3 separate regions of the Homo sapiens genome follow, and all the other regions are linked to region 1. Evidence: promoter capture Hi-C in 16 types of primary human blood cells and fetal thymus (Javierre and others, 2016). All regions are on one chromosome and are shown on one strand. The core of a region is centred on a gene start or on the middle of the fragment in contact, and the rest is flanking DNA. Distances in the headings are between cores, read along the strand shown.

Evidence for each region. The method cuts DNA at HindIII sites, captures the fragments that hold promoters and counts their contacts. A CHiCAGO score of 5 or more calls a contact.
Region 2: a contact is called between a fragment that was not itself captured here and the fragment with the promoter of HTR2A-AS1 in region 1, in 2 of 17 cell types (naive B cells and M0 macrophages). The highest score is 7.3, in naive B cells.
Region 3: a fragment that was not itself captured here is called in contact with the fragment with the promoter of HTR2A-AS1 in region 1 in 2 of 17 cell types (naive B cells and M0 macrophages); the score reaches 6.2 in naive B cells.

Annotation. Positions count from the first base shown.
Region 1 is chr13:46,850,761-46,853,567 of GRCh38, forward strand. It overlaps HTR2A-AS1 (HTR2A antisense RNA 1), which reads left to right and starts at 1,380. Exons shown (of 2, transcript NR_103752.1): 1 at 1,380-1,466. The region is part of intron 3 of HTR2A (5-hydroxytryptamine receptor 2A); the gene reads right to left. The HindIII fragment of the contact is 4,589 bases long and covers 1-1,808 here.
Region 2 is chr13:47,758,487-47,761,721 of GRCh38, forward strand. No RefSeq gene overlaps it. Among named protein-coding and RNA genes, the nearest start is that of LINC00562, 170 kb to the right of the region's middle. The HindIII fragment of the contact is 4,143 bases long and covers 1-3,235 here.
Region 3 is chr13:47,776,972-47,780,199 of GRCh38, forward strand. No RefSeq gene overlaps it. Among named protein-coding and RNA genes, the nearest start is that of LINC00562, 150 kb to the right of the region's middle. The HindIII fragment of the contact is 1,452 bases long and covers 722-2,173 here.

The sequences.
Region 1 (2,807 bases), core at 130-2,629:
GGGAAGACTGGCTATAGAAACCATCTTTTAAGAACTTAATGCTAAGGACCAGTTATGTTTTACTGCAAGTCTTTAATGCACAATGCCAAGATCAACATTTTTTGAAATTACAATTTTCTCTGCTATTTCTTACAATGCTTATTTTCTTTCCATGGTTCCCAGCTAATTGGTGTCCCGTACCTGTGCTGATGTTGAATGTTTTTCCTCCAAATTAACCTATAGATGATTTCTGGGGTGGGGGTGAGGATGGGGCAGAAACCCTTTGAAAAGGAGTGCAAAAGTTCATGTTCATGTGACTACGTACATTTTTCAGGAAAGAGGTAATTATCCCAATACTCTGCAACACAAAAAAGATTCTGAATCACTGAGCCTGGGTGTACAAACACTATGTCTTGTGTGTATGTGTCTGTGTATATGTGTGTTTCCTAGTAAAACCAGTTTCATATCTTCATAGTTCTATTTCTTCTGGATAGTACTTTTCTAGAGAATATGGCAGTAATTTCTAATTTTAAAAGACATAAGAAACAAAAGTCACAGTAAAAATCTAATCAGCCAAATAGTTTATAAGAAAATGCAGGAAAAAGATAAAGAATGAGCTCCTTGATACATTGTATATTCTGGTTCAAACATAGTACATGCACAGATACATACAGCACAAAACACACTAACTTTAATATCCTGTGGAGAAGTTAATTTGCTGGATTACACATATGCATGTTAAATGGGAGCATTTATTAGAATAAGTCAGACCAAAAGAACACTTTCGCACGGAATATTTATATAATGGAAACAGGGATTTCTGAAAAATTGCTTCAGTTTTCCAGGTGGCTTTACAAGGGCAGGATGGATGTAGAGTAACTGGGAGAGAGACTCTCCTTTTAGCAACATTCTGGGCATGAAAGGCAGTTGTGGATCCAGCCAAATAAGCTGCAAACTTCCCGATGATATATTCACCGCTTTTCTACATTTTGTGATAGTAATAAGGAAGGTGTTAGCTCTAGCCTGCTAAATGTTTGAATCTGATGCATTTTGTAATCAGCAGAATAATGGTCCCCAAAGATGCCTACGCCTAACTCCTGGATGCTGTGAATATGTTGTGTTATATGGCAAGGATAAACTAAAGTTGCAGATGGGAATTAAAGATGTCAATCAGCTGAGCTGGAAATAATTAGAGTGCCCTGGATTATCCAGGTGGGCCCAATGTAATCACAGATTTCCTTAAAAGTGGAAGAGGGAGGAAGGTGTGTTGGGTCAAAGTGATTCAATAAGAGCAGGATTCAATCTGTACTGGCTACCTTGGAAGATAACAGGAAAAGGACCGTGGGCCAAGGAGTGTAGGTGGTTTCTAGAAGCTGGAGGGGCCAGTGACATATTTTTTCCCTAGTGCCTCCAGAAAGAACGCAGCCCTACTGACACCTTGGTTTTGGCCTGGTGAGACCAACTTTGGACTTTTCACTTCCAAAACTGTAAGTAATAAATTTGTGTTGTTTTAAGCCAACAGCAGAGGTGTCATTTCAGTTTGTAGTCATTGCTACAGCAGCACTAAGGAGCTGGCACACATTGCCGGGACTCGCTCTGGCGCTTGGGCGGCACTGTAGGTGTCCACGTTCTTGGAGGTAGTCAGCAAAGGGGGGCTCTCTCGGCTGGGCTGGCCACGTCTGCTTACACAGAGTGCTACCCTCTTCCCACTGCGGTAACAGCCTTGCCTTAGCCCCTGTGTGTTTGGAGTGGCATTCGCTACAAAAGTTCTTTGTCAAAGGGACAAACGATGAGCTATGATGCCATTCAGACTGATGTGTTAACTTCTAAGCTTTCCTATGATTAAGATAATTGTTCTATGATATGAGGAGCGGCATTGCATGCAGTATATTTCTTTATGTGCTGTTAAAATGCAGTTCACGGCTGTAGACAGGTGGGGTGAAATTAGCACCAGACTGGGAGACAGAAGCCCTGATTTCTTTCCTTGGCCTGTCCACATACAAGCTATGGGTGTAATGAACTTTTGTTTTCCCATAAACATTTTAAAATCACTTAGTCATGCTCCTCAAAAAATTTTAACTTTTGGATTAAAACTGTTGAAACTGTAGATAATCTGGTGGAAAATGAACACCTTAGTTCTACAGTTAACAAAGGTAAGTTATCTCAATAATTTGAACATGTTATATTTTTATCTACTTAGGTCTTGTCTGTCCTATAATAGTTCTAGGGCTTTTTTTTTTCCTATAAAGTTCCTGGTAATTCTTATCTGATTTTTCTTTTTCTCCTTAATATAGTGCATTATTCTGAATTGTTAGGTAAAAGTTGGTCTGCTTGTTGTCAGTATCTTATAGAGTTTGTGCTTCTCATATGCCTAGAAATTTTTTCTTGTGACTTTATATCCCCTTCAGGGGATATAAGATGCCGTGATTAATATCGTACACCAGGAGAAGGGGTTACAGCCTGTGCGCCTCCTGGTGATCTTGATTAGGAAGAAGGGGAAGGTGGACCTTAGGGCAGATGGCCTCTAGCATTGAAATGTGGGCTCCCAGATCCTCCATCTGTCCACATCTTGCTGGACACCTCCATACTCATCTGCCTGGGCCACTTCTCTGACTCCCAATCCCCTAACCCTTGGGCTGGGAGGAGAAAGAGCTCAGAAGCCAGCAGGTTGCTCTCTTCCCTTGCTGTGTGCTCTCAGTGGTTGTTGGCAGCACACTGGAATCACCTGGCAGCCTTAAATACTGATAGTGAATTGAATCCATAGAGATTCTGATTTTGTGCATTCCAGGTGAGGCCAAGTGTATCAGGCTGTTTTAAACCTCCCCAGA
Region 2 (3,235 bases), core at 659-3,158, 910 kb after region 1:
ACCCAGTATTCCTTAGACTATTGTTGACTAAGGCAATCAATGGCCTTCACATTTTTTAACTGTATATATCCTAAAATAATTTTTGAGAAACTAGAAGTCTCCTCTAAATTGTTAAAGTGAACAGCTAAAACTTTCCATTTTATGCCTTAAAATGTTCAAAAGTTGTCATTTGCAGCACATTGTAAAAATCAACCATTTAAATAAAACTATTCCATCATTCTTTCAAACATGCCAAATTGGGTAAAATATCTAGTCATAAGACAAGCTATCATATGGTTTAAAATGACATAAATAAGTTTTCTTTGATAGTTAGAAAATTTACATCATTCCTTTTTGCTCCAGAACTTATATTTTTCAATTTACTTTCCCCACAAAGTCAAATTCTGATATTATTAGTCACCTATTCAAACTCTTTCAAAATCAAATCCATTACTCTTTTTTCATTTTTATAGATGTAAGCAATTAAAAAATTCTTCACATAGGTAAGTAAATTAGAATGAAAAAAATTTTGCTTCTGACTTAAATGCCAAAAATTATATTGCAATCTGTCAAAAATTATTTTAATGTTTTATTGGCTGACAACTCAATTAGATTCTCCTTTAATTTTGTCAAAACCTAAGAATTGTAAATAACTGAGTTTTAAAATTATTCATTATCTCGTCACTATACTCATTCACTTAATTTCTGAGAATTATTTTTTAAATGGCTTTACTGAGGCTTATCAACAAATATATATACCTGCTACTCTACGTGAAAACATTTTGTGTAATCTAATATAGAATGAATTTGGAAAATGAAAATATTGTTAATTATAGTACTCCTTACAAAAAATATTTTTGATAACTTTTTTTTTTTTTTGAGACAGAGTTTCACTCTTGTTGTCCAAGCTGGAGTGCAATGGCATGATCTCGGCTCACTGCAACCTCCACCTCCCGGGTTCAAGCAATTCTCCTGCTTTAGCCTCCCAAGTAGCTTGGATTACAGGCACGAGCCACCGCACCTGGCTAATTTTTTGTATTTTTAGTAGAAACGGGGTTTCACAATGTTAGCCAGGCTGGTCTCAAACTCCTGATCTCAGGTGATCTGCCCGCCTCGGCCTCCCAAAGTGCTAGGATTACAGGTGTGAGCCACCACACCCAGCTGATAACATATTTTTATCTGATCATTCAATATATGCATCCAAACCTCATAACTGCAGACTCAGCTCTGTCAACTTGTGGAGGTATCCACCACGCAAAGCCAGTTGTCATTACAAAATCAATCAGTCAAATTGGATTTGCTTTCTATTAGAAAAAGTCTGTCCTCGTTTTTCAATCTAAGTAACTGTTAACACATGTTCTTGTAACAAGCATCTCACTTCTGAATTCTAACATAGATATATATATTGAAACAGACCTTTTCCATGAAGTTGCTACCTGGACAAAATAAGGCTTCTCTGATCTTCAATATTTCCAAGCATCTTTAGGAGCAACCACGTTTTACTGCTATGTCTCTTCCTTCTGTTGTGAGCACTGCCACATACCAGGTAGGAGCTGCTCTGTGACTGCATCCTGAAGTGAAGAGAGAATGGAGCATATTCCCTTCTCTCTCCTCTCATGTGCCTCTCCCTGGGAAGTATTGCAGTCATTGACAAGTAGGGGATATAAGAAAATGTCATCTCTTCTGCTACCCTACTTTACAATATATTTGAGTTTGGAGCATTGCCACAGAAGCTGAAATACCATTTCTAATGCCACAGTTTTCACCCCACAGAAATATGTAAAAGACAGAGAAAGTCATAAAATCCTTTAATCAGTGAAATCATCATCATAACTGATATTTTTCATTGGATTGGAGATTTTTATACCCCTGAACTATTCACTGTGGTAAGATTTCAGAGGTGTGAATTTATGCCTTTCTTTTGGAAAGTGAAAACAAAGGCAGAAAAGAAGGATGCACGTGGCTTCCTGAATTGCAGGCTCCTTTCCAAGACAATAGATCACAGAAAAGAGTATGTATGGATGTTGAACATATGTAAACTGATGCTCTTAAAACAATTTTTTCCCATGTAGCTTTTGGAAAGATTTCCTATTCCCCAACAGGTACCAGGACCCCAATGTTGCTATAGATGTCAAAGCAACTGGGAAGATTATATGTAATTCACAATTCTTGAAAAATAAGACATTTTATTCTCTACTATGTGCATGAATTTTCTATTACTGTATAACAAACATCAGCAGAAGAAAATATACATTTATTACTTCACAGTTTCCATGGGTCTAAGTACACACAATCCCAGCACATCTTCACTGGGTCTTCAGCTCAGGGTCACACATGGCTGCCTCAAGATGTCAGCTGGTGCTGCAATCTGAGGCTGAGCTCCTCTTCCAAGCTCACTGGTTACTGACAGGATCCAAGTCTTAGGATTGTAGGACTGAGGATCTCTCTCTCCTAGAGGCTGCACATGTTCCCTGCCGTATGACCCTCTCCACAATGTGGCAGTTTGTTTCCTTAAAGCCAGCAGGAAGACATCTCTGCTTCTTTTCTCTCTACCTCTAGACCCTCGTCTAAAAGGCTCAACTGATTAGGTCAGGCCTACCAAAGTAATTTCCCTTTTGGTTAACCTAAAGTGAACTAATTAGGGGGTTTAATTACATCTGTAAAATTCCTTTACCTTTGCTATATAAGGTAACATAATCCAAAAAGTAATATTCCATCATTTTTGCTATGGTCTACTGATTAGACACAAGCTACAGGATCTACCCATAGTCAAGAAAAAGAGTTTTACAAGGGGTGAGTCATTGGGCATCATCTTAGAATTCTGCCTACCACACTATTTAAGCCAAAAATAACATTAAAATTATCAATATAACAAACAGAGAGTGTTTTCTTCAAGTTTAGAGTATAAAATTTAAAGGACGGCCCCTAGAGCACTCATTATTTAGTGACTTAGAAGAATTATAAGGGAAATTAGTTTACAACATAGATTTTCCTAGCCCCAACCCTAGAGATTCTAATTCAGCTGGCAAAGAGTTGACCAGGAATCAGCATTTTAAATAACTTCTCCCTGATGATTCTGATATAAGCTCTGACCACACATTGAAAACCCCTAAATAGGGCTTCCATAATTAAAGAATGACTTCAATTTTCCTATGGCTCTGCAGTTTGGGCCAAAGAATTCCTCCAAATGGGCTTCTTAGTCCCTTTGTTTTATAAAAGCTATATTTCACAGGCTCCACCTCTCTGCTTAGCACCT
Region 3 (3,228 bases), core at 198-2,697, 930 kb after region 1:
TGCCCACGCAAGATCCTGCTGGCAGGTGGATCCCAACAATGAGAACCTGTAGAGTGGATTGTCTGGGATGAAGACTCTATAGAGGAATCAGAAAAGATCAGGAACCTGCGGGGAAGCTCCAAAGCGTTCTACAAAGAACCCACTCACACATATGTCCTGAAAGAGGGGAATGCTTGTCCAAGAGACATTTACTCAAAGCCAGAGAAGCAAAGTAACAGCAGAAAAATGATGAAGATGTCAGACAAGAAACACTGTGTCTTTCCATATCCCTCCACAGCTCCTACCAAAGGAGACAGAAACCCAAAAGAGCAGAGGTGGAGGAAGAAATGAAAGGGCAGGTTCTGCAAGTCTCCTGACCACAGACAGAAAGGGGAAAGGAGGATGATAGAAAATAATCATTAAATTGGATGTCCAGTTGAAATTTTAAGCTGGGTCAGTACATTCATTATTGATATAGGTTGGATGTTTGTCCCTTCCAAATCTCATGTTGAAATGTGATTCCCAGTGTTGGAGGTAGGGCCTGGTGGGAGGTGACTGGATCATAGGGGTGGATCCCTCATGAATAGTTTAGCTCCATCCCCTTGGGGATAAGTAAGTTCTTGCTGTTAGTTCTAGAAAGATCTAGTTGTCTAAAAGTCTGGGACCTCTCCTTTCTCTCCCTCTTGTTCCCTCTGTCACTATATGACATACTGGTTCCCCTTCTCCTTCCACCATAATTGGAAGCTTCCTGAGGTTATCACCAGGAGCAGATGCTGGCACCACACTTCCTGTACAGCCTGCAGAACCATGATCCAAAACAAACTCTTCTTTCTTATAAATTACCCAGCCTCAGGTATTTCTTTATAGCAATACCAGAATGGACTAACACAGTTTGGTCTCTTATAAGAGATGTAGTGGCTTAAAACCACACACATTTACTCTGTTTCTATGGGTCAGGAATCTGGGTACAACTTAGCTGGGTGTTCTGCTTCAGGCTGCAATCAGGATGCTAGCTGGGGTTACAGTAATCTCAGGGCTCCACTGGGAAGAATCCACTTCCAAGCTCATTCATGTGGTTGTTGGCAGGATTCCATTACTTATGAGCTCTTAGACTGAGGGCCTCAGTATCTCCCTTCCTGTTGGCCAGAGGTGACCCTGAGTTCCCTGCCATATGGGCCTCTCCAACATGAGGGTCATTCCAGAAGCTGCCTCCCACAGACTGCATTAACAGAATAACTGAAAGTGATCTGAGGGCTATGGTGCTACCCAAAATGTCATTTATGGCTGGAGAAAGAAGCCTGAACAAAGCACAGGTGAAAAAGGCATTGGAGAAAAACATTCAAACATTTACATTTATATCCATCAAGTTCAAACAGTTCTATAAATTGGATAAAAGCATTTACCTTCTTAAAGGAGGCATCAATTGAGTAGTAAGGAAGGGAGACAGTGTGGTCATAGAGGGATCTCCTGAACTCATTCTTTTTTTTTTTTAACTTTTTTTTAAATTATACTTTAGGTTTTGGGATTCATGTGCAGAACGTGCAGGTTTGTTACATAGGTATACACGTGCCATGGCAGTTTGCTGCACCCATCAACCCGTCATCTACATTAGGTATTTCTCCTAATGCTACCCCTCCCCTAGCCACCCCCACCCAACCCGTGTGTGATGTTCCCCTCCCTGTGTCCATGTGTTCTCATTGTTCAACTCTTACTTATGAGTGAGAACAGGTGGTGTTTGGTTTTCTGTTCTTGCATTAGTTTGCTGAGAATGATGGTTCCCAGCTTCATCCATATCCCTGCAAAGGACATGAACTCATTCTTTTTTATGGCTGCATAGTACTCCATGGTGTATATGTGCCACATTTTCTTTATCCAGTCTATCATTGATGGACATTTGGGTTGGTTCCAAATCTTTGCTGTTGTGAACAATGCTGCAATAAACATACGTGTGCATGTGTCTTTATAGTAGAATGATTTATAATCCTTTGGGTATATATCCAGTAATGGGATTGTTGGGCCAAATGGTATTTCTGGTTCTAGATCCTTGAGGAATCACCACACTGTCTTCCACAATTGTCAAACTAATTTACACCGACAACAAAAAAAGAAAAATTCAGGCCAATATCCCTGATGAGCATTGATGTGAAAATCCTCAATAAAATACTGGCAAACCAAATCCAGCAGCACATCAAAAAGCTTATCCACCACAATCAAGTCAGCTTCATCCCTGGGATGCAAGGCTGGTTCAACATACACAAATCAATAAACATAATCCATCACATAAACAGAACCAATGACAAAAACCACACAATTACCTCAATAGATGCAGAAAAGGCCTTCGATAAAATTCAACACCCCTTCATACTAAAAACTCTCAATAAAGTAGGTATTGATGGAACTCATTCTTTGGAGACCATGAGAACCAGATTTGAAGCCAAGCCTCACCACAGCAAGTACCCTTGGGTTAATTAACACCTTTGAAATGCAATCTTCTTCTCAGTGATCAGGATTGGATGAGCATAGTAGATGATGTATATGTTTGTGTGGGGTGTTTAGCTTATACATAGTGGCTATTAATATCATTATCCTTATGTAGTCCTCTAAAGCAGTGGTCCCCAAACTTTTTGGCATCAGGGACTGGTTTCATGGAAGATAATTTTTCTATGGACTGTGGTGGTCGTTAGGTTCAGGATGAAACTATTCTACCTCAGATCATCAGACATTAGATTCTCATAAGGAACACAAAACCTAGATCCCTCACATGCGCAGTTCACAGCAGGGTTCACACTCCTATGAGAATATAATGCTGCAGCTGATCTGACAGGAGGCAGAGCTCAGGCAGTAATGCTCGCTCACCCACCACTCACTCCTTCTGTGTGGCCCAGTTCCTAACAGGCCACAGACAGTACTGGTCCATGGCCTGGGGGTTGGGGACCCTTGCTCTACAGTTCATCTATGCAACATTAGTGACTGACAGAACCCAAAGGCAATTGTCCTTATTTTTATTTTAAAGAACAAACATGGCAGAAGTCACAACAGTCATTTATACATATGTAAGTACAGATTTTTAGATTGTACCTGAATTTTGTCTAGGTAAGTAATTTTGATAAACTAACTCTCTGCTCAGTGACCTGAACTTTCAGACAGAAAGTGAAAAAGCAGTCTGCTGACATCTAGGCAGAGAGCTCTGCATGAAATGAAATATCACTTGTGTGTATCCTCCCATAAAGCATCACAGGGTCAAGGTGC